Regions from separate parts of the Homo sapiens genome. Here all the other regions are linked to region 3. Evidence: promoter capture Hi-C in 16 types of primary human blood cells and fetal thymus (Javierre and others, 2016). All regions are on one chromosome and are shown on one strand. Each heading gives the region's core, a stretch centred on a gene start or on the middle of the fragment in contact. The rest is flanking DNA. Distances are from core to core; before and after follow the strand shown.

Region 1 (3,047 bases), core at 454-2,953, 3.3 Mb after region 3:
AATTAGTTGAATACAGTGAATTAGAGAAAACAAGTTGAAAAATGATAAGTATAATGAGATCTCATTTGTGGGGAAAGATCCACAGGGCCAGACTCTATGTGTGCACGTGCAAATACATTGAAAAGGGTCTGACGAAGGTCGGGGAAGGAGGAGGTTGGGAGAGCGGATTGAAGGGAGTGTACTTGGTATATTGCACATTCAGTGCATATGCCGCTGAAGCGAGCCCATGTATATGGCATATTTTTGAGATATTTAACATTCTTGATGTTTAGAATGAAAGTGTAATTGAAAAAAAAAAGAGATCGCATTTGGGAAGCTTGAATATCCTCTTGCTTCCCATTGATAGGGACCTACTGAGATTCTCAGAGCACCGGCGACTTTGAGAGTTAAGGGAAGCTTTTCCAAATTCTTTCTCTCCCTTCCTCCACTAGTCCACCTCCCCTCGCTCCTGTCGCCTTTCTTTCCTCAAAATCCTTCTTATTGGCCTTTGTCCAGGAGTCTTCCTCACAGCCTTTCTCATTGTCACATCCTCCCTGCAAAACCCATTCTCAAAGAGGAAACATTTGAAAGATAGTAAAGCTACTCTTAGGCGCATAAATATTTGAATTGGACATTGTTCCTAAACCATATTTGATAAAAATTAAGATAATATGTTTACAGGATGTTTCTGTTTTCCCCAAACAGTCTTACCAAAGTGCTTTTTAATAGAATGACCACATGATGTTAAATATTTTTCATTTTGAAATAATTTCAGGCTTAGAAAAAAGTTACAAAAATGGTACAAATAATTCCATTATATCCTTCACTCAGCGTTCACAAATCTTAACATTTTATATAGCTATAGTACAATAATCATAACTAGGAAATCAGCATTACTACTACTCTATTAACTAATCTGCAGATATGGATCAATTCAAATTTCTACAGTTATCTAACCAATATCTTCTTTTTTGTGGTCCAGGATTCAATCCAGGACCTCGCAATGCATTTGGTTGGCATGTCTTGTTTCTTTTAATCTGTGACAGTTTCTTACTCTTTCTTTATTGATGACTATGATACTTTTGAAAAGTACTGGCCAATTTTGTGGAAAGTCTTTTAATTTGGGTTTGTCTAGTATTTTCTCACTATTAAGGTTATGCATTTTGTGGGGCAAAAATATCACAGAAGTGATGTGTCCTTCTCATGAGGCACAGTATGTCAACATGTCTCACTAATGGTGATGTTAACTTTGATCACTTGGTTAAGGTGGTCTCTGCCAGTTTTGGCCAGTGAAAAGTTGTGATTTTATTTTTTGTGTTTAATTATAGGGGGAAGTATTCTCATCATATGCAAGGTAATTTTAGTATTCTTGACAGTTATTACTGTAATATTTGCCAAGTGGCGAGTTTCTGTTTCCATCATTCTGAAGTTAAGTTTTAATCTGAATATTCAACTGCATAATTACTTCCTAAAGATATTTGACTAATACTTTCTCTACTTCACACTAGGGGAAAAAAAGACATTTGGAGGCTGTGTATATGTATGCTGTGGAATTAATGGCTATAATGGAATTTATAAATGTATTTTTACAGATAATTGCATTCTAAATGAATGATTCACTATTCTTAGTACTTGTAAGAAATTGGATTCTAAAAATCCCAATTTACATGGATTTATGAGCTTATTAGTTGAATTGCTTTTATTCTGTGTTTATACAAAATGGTTAAATGTAAACTATATTTAAAAATAGAACAAAGATAATATGTCCTTCATATTATTTCCAATATACTTTGAGTTTTAGTTGGCATTTGCAAAACTGATCATTTAAATTAACAATGCATCTGACTCTCATCCAATAATAGTTTACTTTTATTTAGTCTTAATGTTTGCTGAAAGATTTACTGGAATTTGGAATGAGTACTCCACTGCAAGGAAAATAGACTTCTTGTGGGTGAAACTTAGAGATCTTTTAATCCACTAGTTATTTGACTATCAAACATTTTGATATATGTCATTTGAAGATTAAGTTACCCTATGCAGCATTATTATTGTACATAGAAAACTGGTCTAAGATTGGGTCTTAGTTCTAATGCCATTTTTTCTTGCTTTCAGTATGAAGGAAAGCAGGGGAGTGAGTTTTAGGTTTTTTTTTTTTTTTTTTTTTGGATCACTGACCCTTTTGAGTATCTGCTATCTATGAACTGTTTCCCCAGAAAAACACACAAACTCACATTGCCTTAGAGCAAAATACAATCCAATGTCAAAAATGGTTGGGGGGTTAGCAAGGGAGGGACAAACAGGCTGCCAGGCTGTCAGAGGCTTCCCAGATGCAGTGTCCCCTCCTGCCATATGGCACAACTCGGCTCTCTTGGCAGCTCAGATGGGCAGCTAAGGCTGCACAGCCCATCTGGTTCCCTGTCATTTCCCGCCAGACCTCTTCCTCAACCCTCAATATCTTCCTCTCCCCCTTTATCACGGAGTCCCCAGTGTGCTCAGCTTTCTGGCCCCCTCTTCACGCCTTATGAGGTCCTGCCTGTCACTGGTTCTTTCACTACCTCTTCACCTCTCTCACCTACCCCCTGCTAAGGAACAGGGCTCAGAAGCCCGAGTGAGAGGACCTGACTACTCCCAATGTATAGAGCAGGGAATAATTTATTGCATAAATATGTCAACGCTCTCCCTTTTGATCGGCATAGAAATCTTGCCACGTTTTCTTGCCTTCTGAAAACGAAGAGCTGACGAACACGCCTCACATCTATAGCTGACACAGCGATTACCAACGGACAGAGGCCGGAGAGCTGTGCACGCTCGGATCCTGCAAAGGCAGGGTGTGGTTGGAGAAAGAGAAGTGGGTGCAGAGGAACAGGGATCAGGGCCGTTATAAGGAAACATTCTTGTTTCTGAAAATGGAAAGATCGTGAACTCCCAGAACCCGCTTCTTCGCCCGCCAACCCCTCCGCCTCCTGCCGCGGTGGCAGCCCCCGGCGCCAGGCCCAGCCGCAGGCCCGCCACGGCTCGCGGCAAAGCTTGGCGCCCGGGTGCGCGCCTCGGCCGGAGGCGGTGGCGGG
Region 2 (3,345 bases), core at 439-2,938, 3.2 Mb after region 3:
CTATTATAGTACTCTGCCAACCACTGCCAAATTAATTTTCCTAAACTATCATTCTACTTATCCAATCACCTTGTTCAACAGGGTTTTAAAAATGAAATCAAAACTCCTCTGCTTGATATTCAAGGCCCCTCATGTTCTCAAATCAATGTATATTCCCAGTCTTATCTCTTGTAGTCCCTAAATGAAACAGTTCCTCTTGCTCAATTTATGCTCCTAAAAACAAACAAACTTGGCACCATTAACAACACAATTTCCTTAACTCAGAATATTCTCTTGTATATAAATAAGCCTTCCTGAAAGTCAGAAATAGGATCTCCCTTTCTTGAACTTTTATAACACTTAATTGTATATATCATTCATTTTAAGTTAACGACCTCCTCACCTATACTGTAACTCTTTAATGGGTACCTGTTCTCTTTCCCTACACCGAAAATTCCTTGAGAGCAAAATCATGTCTAATTTAATTTCAAGCATCTATTGGGTATCTGGCCCCACAATGCCAAGAGTATATTTTGTTGATTGTTAATTAATCATCTTACTTTATTTAATACAAGTAATAGCTTTTCCTTGTTCTACTATAAACAGATCTGTACACTTTCTGGTGGCTGTATGCACCAGTCTAAACATATGGGTAGGGTCCAGTAATTTTTAAATTTTTTCTCAATAAACTCACGATAGCTACCATTTATTAGTGATAGCTAGCTAACCACTGTTAGGCACTTTACACGTGTATCTCATTGAATCCTCATATCCACCAGTGGTAGGCACTATTATCTCCATTTTACGGAAGAGAAAACTACTACATCTTGGAGATTAAATGTCTCTCCCTTCTCATGTTATTATCTGCCCTTTCCCCTCCAAATCAATTCATATCATTTTTTCTAAACCTTTTCACCTTTTACTCAACTAATCATTCGTTTTGTTTATTAACGACTATGTGCCAGGTGTTGTGCTGATGCAGGAGACAACCGCGAAGATGGGGACAGAATCAGTAACATCGACGTAAGGGAATTGAAGCAGAAGATCACGCTGCCTGCAGACACCAGGAAACGCCAAGACCCCCCTTCCACGAACCAACATTCTTCCACCCTCTCCAACTTTTTTCTGGAACCCCTTCACTTCCAACGCCACTCAATGTACACTTCACTTTCTCGTGCTCTTCCTAAGAGAGTAGTGTTTTCTTCCTCCCCACCGAGAAAAAAAATAAAAGCAACAACTGGAACTTCTTCCTTACCCTGCCTTGTCTGCAGACCCTGGAGGCCCCTTCCATTTCCCCTTGTCCTTTTCCTTGTCTTTTTTGGTTCCCGCCGCAGTGGTCGAGTCGCCCTCGAACACGCTGAACAGCTCATCTCCGAATGCGTCCGCCATTTTTGGGAGCAGTGAGAGCAAATCTCCCTCCTACCCACGATGCCCCGCGACCGAAGACAGTGACGTCTCGTGAAGGCTCAACAGTGGCCCGCAGGAGACAAAAGTAGTCGAGTCGCGCAGCCGACAAAAATGTTCCCCTGACTTTTTTTTTTTTTCCTGCTTTTCTTTCCTTTCCTTTCCGACCTAAAGTGGATAAGCTGCTCAGTGGATAAAGAGCGAGGGCGGCGCGTGGCGCCTGGCGTGTGGCAGGCAGCTGGCGACTCAAGGAGGCGGAGCCTGCTGAATTCGACCAATTGCGAGGCAGCGGTCGCCCCGGCCCGAGAAGCCCGGATCGAAGCGCAGGGTGGCAGCCCCGGAGCCGGGGAATGTGAAGAGCTCTCGGCTGTGCAGTGGTACCGTCGGGGCCTGGGCCGCGAAGGATCTTCTGCCACAGCTGCAACATGGGCGGCAAGAACAAGAAACACAAGGCTCCAGCGGCCGCGGTGGTCCGGGCCGCCGTGTCTGCTTCCAGAGCCAAATCTGCCGAGGCTGGAATTGCCGGGGAGGCCCAAAGCAAGAAGCCAGTGTCCAGGCCGGCCACCGCTGCCGCTGCCGCTGCCGGCTCCAGGGAGCCCCGTGTCAAGCAAGGTACGAGAGGTCCCCCAGCCCCTGGCTGTCTGCCCTGAGACCTTGCTGCTTGTCCTGAGGAAAGGGCCTTAGAACCCGGGAGGAGCTTCGGGCCCAACATTTCTATTTCCCAACACTCGAGCTGCTACCTCCCCATGGGGTGGCCTTGTTTTAGATTAAAAAAGTCTAAGCTCTTTGGGCCTCCAAAATTCTGACAGTAGCCCTGTTGCAGCCTGGCATTTCTCTTTTAACTCACACTTCTCCCCCTTCTAAAAACAAAATAATTGCATTAGCTCCTGTTTCAGCAGGAATTCATCCTGAGCACCATCTCAGCTAGCTAGGCTAACGCAAAGACGAGTACTGAGTGGAGTTCCTGACCTCCTGGTGCCAGCCAGCCCCATTTTCTGTCAGTTTTTCATATCATTTTCAGCAACAATCTAGTGTCTCCATGCGTTCTGGAAAAATCAATACTTAATAAAAATTACAGGACTTACACACTGGTTACACACTGGTTACGTGTAATCTATTGTAAAATTGTCTGCCCTCGTTTCTGCCGCCATGCAGTTTTGCTTACTGTACAAATTGATTTGACAACTCAACTTATAGATGGCCGATTCCTGCTGCAGATGAGCAGGCCACATATTACGGTTGAGCTCAAAAGATGAACAATTACATTCTGTTGTGTTCTTCTCGGGTTGTTTGCTTGTACTTATTGGAGTATTCAAGAAATATTTGCTGAGCATTTATGTGTATATATGCAAATATTTAGTATGTGTCTGATAAGATGTGAGGAATGTGATGAGCAAAAAGAGACATCACCTCATGGAGCTTGCCAGTCTAATGTCAGAGATAGGTATTAACTAATAGGTAACGCACACAGACATATTTATAGCCTTATAATAGATAAGTGCCACAAAGAAAAGCCAGGGAAGACAGTTTAACAGGGTAATCTAATTTTTCTCGGGATGAGCAGGTATCATGGATGGTGTCTGGAAATGTAACAGTTAAGCTGAGATGAGGAGAATGAAAAAGGAGTTAACTCTGTGAAGCATGGCAGAAATTAGTATTCCAGGCGGGCGTAATGAACATCATGTGTAAAAAGTTTGAGTCAGGAAAGAGCTTGGGGCTCTTGAGGAATTCACAGAACATAAAGCATCGCCAAAGGATGAAATGAGATGAGACTGAAAAAGTAGGCAGGTACCAGACCTTTACCTAGAAGGTGGAAACAGTTCTTTGCCCTGCGATTTATTGTAGTGTTAGCTACAGAGTTAGCATACTTGTAATTACAAATACATAGAATTTCTCCCTGACAACTATGGCAGTTTTATTCTGTGGATCAGCCTCTTTTTTACTTTTCCTTTGTCTTTTACT
Region 3 (3,471 bases), core at 972-3,471:
TGTCACTTATGAGAAACATGCCTGGACTTGCCCTGCACTCTTTAAAGAATCAAAAACGGAAGTGACAGCAAAGACTTTCCCTTTCTCCTCGCTAATGGCAAAGCCTTTCCCTTTCTCCTCTCTAATGGCAATAAGCCTCTTTTCCACATTATGCTGGAAGTATTTGAGACACAGTATTTTTGTAAATGTTCGATTAATGTTGATACCACACATACCTAAATTTGACAGTGGACTGCAGCAACTTTTTGTATGTACCTTCCAGGGATTCAATAATCTGGTATTCTAAATTTCTCTGGAATTTAGCTTCAAAAAACTATTTACCATATCCTGTTAACATAGGTAAAAAGATTCAAGTGTGCTGCTAATTAACCTAACCTCGATGATCTAGTAAAAATATACAATAATTACCTAAGTTCTCCAAGCCTCATCTATAAAATGGGAATAATAATGTAGGAGATGAGAATATGCCACCCCAAATATGGCCCTGGGATAAAGATTATTTTAAGATAATTATTTTGAGAACCAGCAGACCCAGGAAATGCTCTAAAAATGGCATATTACCCTTTCGTAAGGGAAACGTACATTCACTAAAAAAAAAAACAACAAAAACAAAAAACAAAAAAACCCCACAAAACTCCATTTGTAAAAGTGTCTCCTCTGTACCAGGAAGAATGACTCTAAATCATGAAAAACTTATCAATGAAGAAATAAGAAACCCCACTCCTGTTTACCGTACATTTCCTGGTCATGATTCCTTAACTTGCCTGCCCCACTCTTTTCTTTTGGTTTAGCTAAAGATAGTATTTAAGCCCGATTTTAAACCATCTCTAATTTTCCTGGTTATCTCCCATGTATATATGAGACGTATATGTTAATAAGCTTCTTTGTTTTCTTGTTAATCTGTCTGGTTACAGCGACCCAGGCCAAAACTTTGAAAGGTGGAAAATTATTTTTCCTTCCTTACAATATTTCTCTCAGAATTGTTGTAGGATGAAATAAGGCATTTAAAAATACTGCACAGTCCTCAATAAATGTTACTCTATCGTAATTAGAACAAGAAAAACAAACAAAAAAACGTGTTCCTAGATTAGTCAAACTGCACAGCAAAATCTGGAAATGGGAAACTAAGCTGTGTTTGCACTCACTGGCCTACGCTCCTCTCTTCATCCTACCAATCTCCCTACCCCAGAAAGTCTCAGATTGACTCTCCAGGAACCAGGGCAGCTCATGAGCCATCTCAACAGATGCATTCGGAAGAAGTCATAGATGACTCTGATTGGAAACTCACAATCGGCATCGATGTTTAGTACTAGTAACTGTCAAAGGCCCACGGTTGTCAACCGCTGCCCACTTCGACACCTAACGGCATTCCGGAACATTCCACAAGATGGCGCCCTTGCTTTCCAATCTTCGGGCTACGGGCGGAGGACGCCTTGCCAGGACGCCGACCTCGCTCTGCAAGGTTCAGGGGCCGACCTCAGACAGAGGCTCGCTCTAGGGGCATGGGCGGGGGCCAGACGGGCCTCGAGTGGGATCCTGGCACGGTTGGCCGATCGGCCCGGGATCCCGGCTGCGGGCCCGTGTCTGCCCTAGCGCGATGGGCTCGAATGCCCGGCTCCACGAATCCCGGCCTTTCACCCCCACGGCCTCTCGGCACTGCCCCAGCTAGACACCAGCGAGCTCGTCACAGCGCGGGCAGGCACTGCGGGGCAGCTGCAGACGAGCCCTGTCATACGGCCGGAGGAGGCCTCGCCTGCCCGTGCGGCGGGCTCCGGGCACCCTGATACCTTGACACAGGAGGCCCCGGGCGGCCGGGAAGGGCTGTGCGGGGGAGGGACTGCGTCTACACCCGCGCCCGACTCGCTCGGGTCACGGCACTGCCCTGCCACCAGGCGGCTGGGGCGGGGGTGAGGCCAGGCGTCGGCCCTCGCGATTCTGTTTTGTACGCTGAGGCTCGGAGCCTTCGAAGAACGGGACAGCGGGGCCCACGGACGGCTCTGAAGGCCTTCCCGCGGCCGCAAGAGATCTCGGCGGCCGGCGTTTGAGGCGCGCGGCTCCGCTGGGAAGCGAGACCCGGGTGGCGGGACAAGACTTGCTTCCCGGCCACGCGCGCTCGGCCGGCCGTGGGGCGGGGCATAGGCCGTGACGTGATGTCGCGTATCGAGTCTCCGCCCCCTTCCCGCCTCCCCGTATATAAGACTTCGCCGAGCGCTCTCACTCGCACAAGTGGACCGGGGTGTTGGGTGCTAGTCGGCACCAGAGGCAAGGGTGCGAGGACCACGGCCGGCTCGGACGTGTGACCGCGCCTAGGGGGTGGCAGCGGGCAGTGCGGGGCGGCAAGGCGACCATGGAGCTTTTGCGGACTATCACCTACCAGCCAGCCGCCAGCACCAAAATGTGCGAGCAGGCGCTGGGCAAGGGTTGCGGAGCGGACTCGAAGAAGAAGCGGCCGCCGCAGCCCCCCGAGGAATCGCAGCCACCTCAGTCCCAGGCGCAAGTGCCCCCGGCGGCCCCTCACCACCATCACCACCATTCGCACTCGGGGCCGGAGATCTCGCGGATTATCGTCGACCCCACGACTGGGAAGCGCTACTGCCGGGGCAAAGTGCTGGGAAAGGTGACAAGCGGAGGGCGCCGGGCTGCCGGGCGGGCGGGAGGTCTGTCCGGGCGACCCCAAGCCGGGCAAGCCCGCGGGGTCCCTCGCCCGCCGCTTCCGGGTTTTTCGGGGGTCCGATCCCAGCGCGAGGTGGGCTCCTCACCTGCCCTCTGGCTTTTGTGCGCCGGCAGCGCTGGGGATCGGCTTTGCATTCTTAGCCTCAGAACTGTGTGTCTCCCGCAGCCCAGAGAAATGCATCTTGAGTCTGGAAGCGAGGGCTTTCTACATCAGACCTCTCTCCCTCTATCTGCTCCCAGGGAATTTTCCTGACAAGTCTCATCAGAGATTATTTTTCATGTCTCCCCGTTCCAACTCCCTCCATAAAGCTCCCCTTTATAAAAGAAGAAGAGAAACTGTTTGAACTTGCTGTTTCCAGCAATGCATTTCTCTTCATGAGGGAGCTTTAACGAAGTCGAATGCCTCCCTCTGTCCACCCTCCTCCATTCCTCAATTTTTTTTTTTTTGCTTTTCTTTCTTCCCATTTATTTATTTATTTAAAATATCTGCCGTCCATTTTTGTGCCATCCTCAATTCCGTCTCGGCTTTGTTTCCTTTCAGGGTGGCTTTGCAAAATGTTACGAGATGACAGATTTGACAAATAACAAAGTCTACGCCGCAAAAATTATTCCTCACAGCAGAGTAGCTAAACCTCATCAAAGGGAAAAGGTGCGTATGACTCTTGAGTAAAGTATTTTCTTTGTGTGCAAGGATGGCCCTTCCCTGTTAGGAAAATGTCTTCTGCATGTGTAATCACTGGCTTTTCCGAGGTGACTGGAAGCTAATAAGCCTTACCTTGCTTTTTCATTTAGATTGAC
Region 4 (3,375 bases), core at 263-2,762, 4.2 Mb after region 3:
CCTTTACTCTTAACTTGAAGATGATCAAGATATAATCCTTTTAGCCAGGGTGGCAATTTAAACATAAAAATCTCTGTTTTCCAGTTGATGAGTGAATCTTCCTAGAAGGGCACACAACTTTTCCCCTTTCCATGATGGGGTTTAAAGGCCATGTTTACATCTGCCAAGTCTCTGGGTAAACATTTAGCTGCTGTCCCAACAGGCAGTACCAGCATCTTACTCTTTCTTCTCATAGGTAGAACTAGTAACACAATGTGCAGAGCTTTTTGGATAAGGTAGGAGAAAATAGTCAGGTTAAAATGAAAGAGAAAAACACATTTCTCGAGTTTTCCTGGGAGGTTGGACAAGATCAACTTCTAGATTCCTTTCAGTTCAAAATTTTCTGTCTTGACTCATGTGATGATTGATCTGGAATTAACCTTTTTTCCCTCTGCGCCATCAAAACAACAGTGGTAGAATTGGTTGTACTCTGTGTAATACCTATGATGATTAAATGAGATAGTGGAGGGAAAGCCATTTGTAAACAGTACGTTGCTTTTCAAATATAAAATGTTAACGTATTGTGTGGCTGGGCGAGGTGGCTCACGCCCGTAATCCCAGGACTTTGGGAGGGCAAGACAGGCGGATCACTTGAGGTCAGGAGTTTGAGACCAGCCTGGCTGACATGGAGAAACCCCATCTCCACTTAAAATAGAAAAATTAGCTGGGTGTCGTGGCGCATGCCTGTAATCTCAGCTACTTGGGAGGCTGAGGCAGGAGAATCGCTTGAACCCAGGAGGCAGAGGTTGCAGTGAGATCGCACAACTGCACTCCAGCCTGGGCGACAGAGTGAGACTCCGTCTCAAGACAAAAAAAAAAAAAAAAAGTTAACGTATTGTGATTATGTTGCTGATGTTACTTTTATACCTCCTGTAGAATGACTGTTACTGCTTAGTGGTATTGAAATACCTTTTAAACTAGTCTCAATTTATGGAAATACTGGGAGTTGTAATCAACAAGCAGGAAGTCACAAGACTCTTTTAAGAATCTTTTAAAAGCTACGAAAATAAAACCCATTTGAATAATTTATCTATTCAACAAATATTTATGGAGCCCTTACTTTCTGCATGGCCCTGAAAGTCATGCGGGATGAACCCTCAGCTGTAATATCCTCCTTGACTGCAGGACTGGCAGTCGTGTGGCTCTAGAGGAACCTGTGGCAGGACAGGTTAAGTAAGGCACATAGGGGAGGGGGTAGCTTCTGATGTGCTTCTTTGCTTTCTAGTACATTTCTCTCATTTTGTGTGTTTTATTGTGAACTAAAATATAAACTTAGACTTGAAAATGTGACAAGTAAAAATGGTTGATTAGTCTTGGATGCTAATTGTCAATTAATATTCATTGCATTTGTTTATAGTAGCCTCCACCCTCCCATCCACGGTTTTACTTTTCAAGGTTTCAGTTAACCATGGTCCACCGAGGTCTCAAAATAAGTGAGTAAAGTACAATAAGATATTTTAAGAGAGAGAGAGACCACATTCATATAACTTTTATTACTGTATATTGTTATCATTGTTCACTTTTATTATTAGTTATTATTAATCACTTACTATGCCTAATTTACACATTAAACTTTATCATAGGTGTGTGTGTATAGGAAAAAATATAGTGTGCTCTGTGCTATGTTAGTTAGTTCTATGATAGCTCAGTACTATCTGTGGTTTTAGGTATCCACTGGGACTTGGAATATATCCCCCATGGATGAGGGGAAACTACTGTACCGTGTTGGGGATTTTTTATTTATTTATTTTTTTTTTGTGACAGAGTTTTGCTCTTGTCATGCAGGCTGGAGTGCAATGGGGTGATTCTCCTGTCTCAGCCTCCTAAGTAGCTGGGATTACAGGTGCCCACCACCATGCCCAGCTAATTTTTGTATGTTTAGTAGAGACGGGGTTTCACCATGTTGGCCAGGCTGGTCTCAAACTCCTGACCTCAGGTGATCCACCTGCCTCGACCTCCCAAAGTGCTGGGATTACAGGAGTGAGCCACCGTGCCCTGCCAGTGTTTGGGATTTAATAAGATTAGATTTGATAGGTTAGTTTAATAAGATTTCTTTGTATAGACTGGTGGACTTGACCTATTTAGTTTCTTGGTTATAGGCTGTATCTGCCATCATAAAAATGTATGTCTCAGTGGGGAAGATGTGGTGAGAGAATTGGGTTGATCATCACAAATCTGTCACCATTTGCAGGATAAAAACCAGCTAACTAACCAACAATAGAAACCCATGATGTGCTACAAAGGGTAGAGCCCACAGGCACTATGAAATTGTAAAGGATCCTACTTGAAAAGAGGAGTGAAGGTACATTTGTGATTTCATATTATGTTCAGTTATCTGTGAACTGAACTTCTTTATTGATAAAAAAAAAAGTACATTGTTTCGTTGTTTTTAACCCTGAATATCTATGAACATTGTAAGTTGTATTTATTGTGACTAACTTTAAAGTGATAATGTAGGTCACTTTTTAGTCTAAATGTCGAGTGGATTAGGCAGTCATATTAAATATTCCTTTCTTAATAATTTATAAGATAAAAATTATCTGAGCACAATAAACAGATCTACCATATATGGAGTTCATATAGCAAAAATGTTTTGAGCAAATCCGTACCATTAGGTAGGAACTTTTCTACAAAGGTGTTAAGTCTGGTTCCCAAACTTCTGTGGCTCCAGTCTAACAGTATGAGCCCTAGGAGAGGACACATAGGGACCTTGATTCATGCCCTCCAGGGGCTTGCATTCTGAAAGATGCCAAAGCCACATGCTTGTTGGCATGTGGGCAGTGCTCAGGTCGGGGGTGAGAGGAGATAAGTATATGAGTTATAATCAGGAGGGCAAAATCAGTTAACATTTATTGAACACTTACTCTGTGCCAGTGTTCTAAGTGCTTTGCATGTGTAATAGCATTAAACTGAGGCTCAGGGAGGTTGTGTAATTTCCTCAAGTTCACACAGCTAGCAAGTAGTTGAACTGCGCTTGTGGCCCCAGGGCCCTCCCTCTTCATTGCCTTCCACCTACAAGTAGTTCCCTTGTGCTAGGCAGAGGCTCAGGCAGCTTGGTGTTAAGGCAGTTGGGATGCACTCAAAATTTTTAGTATATTGCTTCTTAAGTAAACAGGTACAGAAAAGTGGTCCTTGACCACTACTATGTTAAAGAAAGCAGTGGCCATGAGCAGGCAGGCTGATGCGCCCTTGTCCCCAAGGACTCTGGCAGGTGATTGTTACAGAGAAGGCTGGCTAGGAAGAGAACTATGTTGTGTGCTGGGAACTCCTGCCTTACAGTCTCCATACCCTGGTCATAGCCACTGAGGTGATCTTCAGCATCTAGTGTTCCACCAG

What was found. Contacts are between HindIII fragments. The CHiCAGO score rates a contact against its expected background, and 5 or more counts as called.
Region 1: a contact is called between a fragment that was not itself captured here and the fragment with the promoter of PLK2 in region 3, in 1 of 17 cell types (total B cells). The highest score is 6.2, in total B cells.
Region 2: a contact is called between the fragment with the promoter of DHX29 here and the fragment with the promoter of PLK2 in region 3, in 1 of 17 cell types (total B cells). The highest score is 7.0, in total B cells.
Region 4: a fragment that was not itself captured here is called in contact with the fragment with the promoter of PLK2 in region 3 in 1 of 17 cell types (naive CD4 T cells); the score reaches 5.5 in naive CD4 T cells.

Annotation. Positions count from the first base shown.
Region 1 is chr5:55,173,345-55,176,391 of GRCh38, reverse strand. No RefSeq gene overlaps it. Among named protein-coding and RNA genes, the nearest start is that of CDC20B, 1.7 kb to the right of the region's middle. RefSeq lists a silencer at 2,780-3,047. The HindIII fragment of the contact is 2,609 bases long and covers 399-3,007 here.
Region 2 is chr5:55,306,037-55,309,381 of GRCh38, reverse strand. DHX29 (DExH-box helicase 29) reads left to right here and starts at 1,688. Exons shown (of 27, transcript NM_019030.4): 1 at 1,688-1,995. The coding sequence starts at 1,809. It overlaps MTREX (Mtr4 exosome RNA helicase), which reads right to left and starts at 1,393. Exons shown (of 27, transcript NM_015360.5): 1 at 1,235-1,393. The coding sequence starts at 1,368. LOC124900979 (a long non-coding RNA gene) reads left to right here. Exons shown (of 2, transcript XR_007058774.1): 2 at 945-1,233. RefSeq lists enhancers at 1,140-1,619, 1,760-2,019. The HindIII fragment of the contact is 7,705 bases long and covers 1-3,345 here.
Region 3 is chr5:58,458,836-58,462,306 of GRCh38, reverse strand. It overlaps PLK2 (polo like kinase 2), which reads left to right and starts at 2,221. Exons shown (of 14, transcript NM_006622.4): 1 at 2,221-2,617; 2 at 3,215-3,322; 3 at 3,466-3,471. The coding sequence starts at 2,348. RefSeq lists a silencer at 1,724-1,903. The HindIII fragment of the contact is 4,873 bases long and covers 882-3,471 here.
Region 4 is chr5:54,303,882-54,307,256 of GRCh38, reverse strand. All of the region lies in intron 1 of ARL15 (ARF like GTPase 15), which reads left to right. Among named protein-coding and RNA genes, the nearest start is that of ARL15, 5.0 kb to the left of the region's middle. RefSeq lists an enhancer at 1,922-2,585. The HindIII fragment of the contact is 5,398 bases long and covers 1-3,375 here.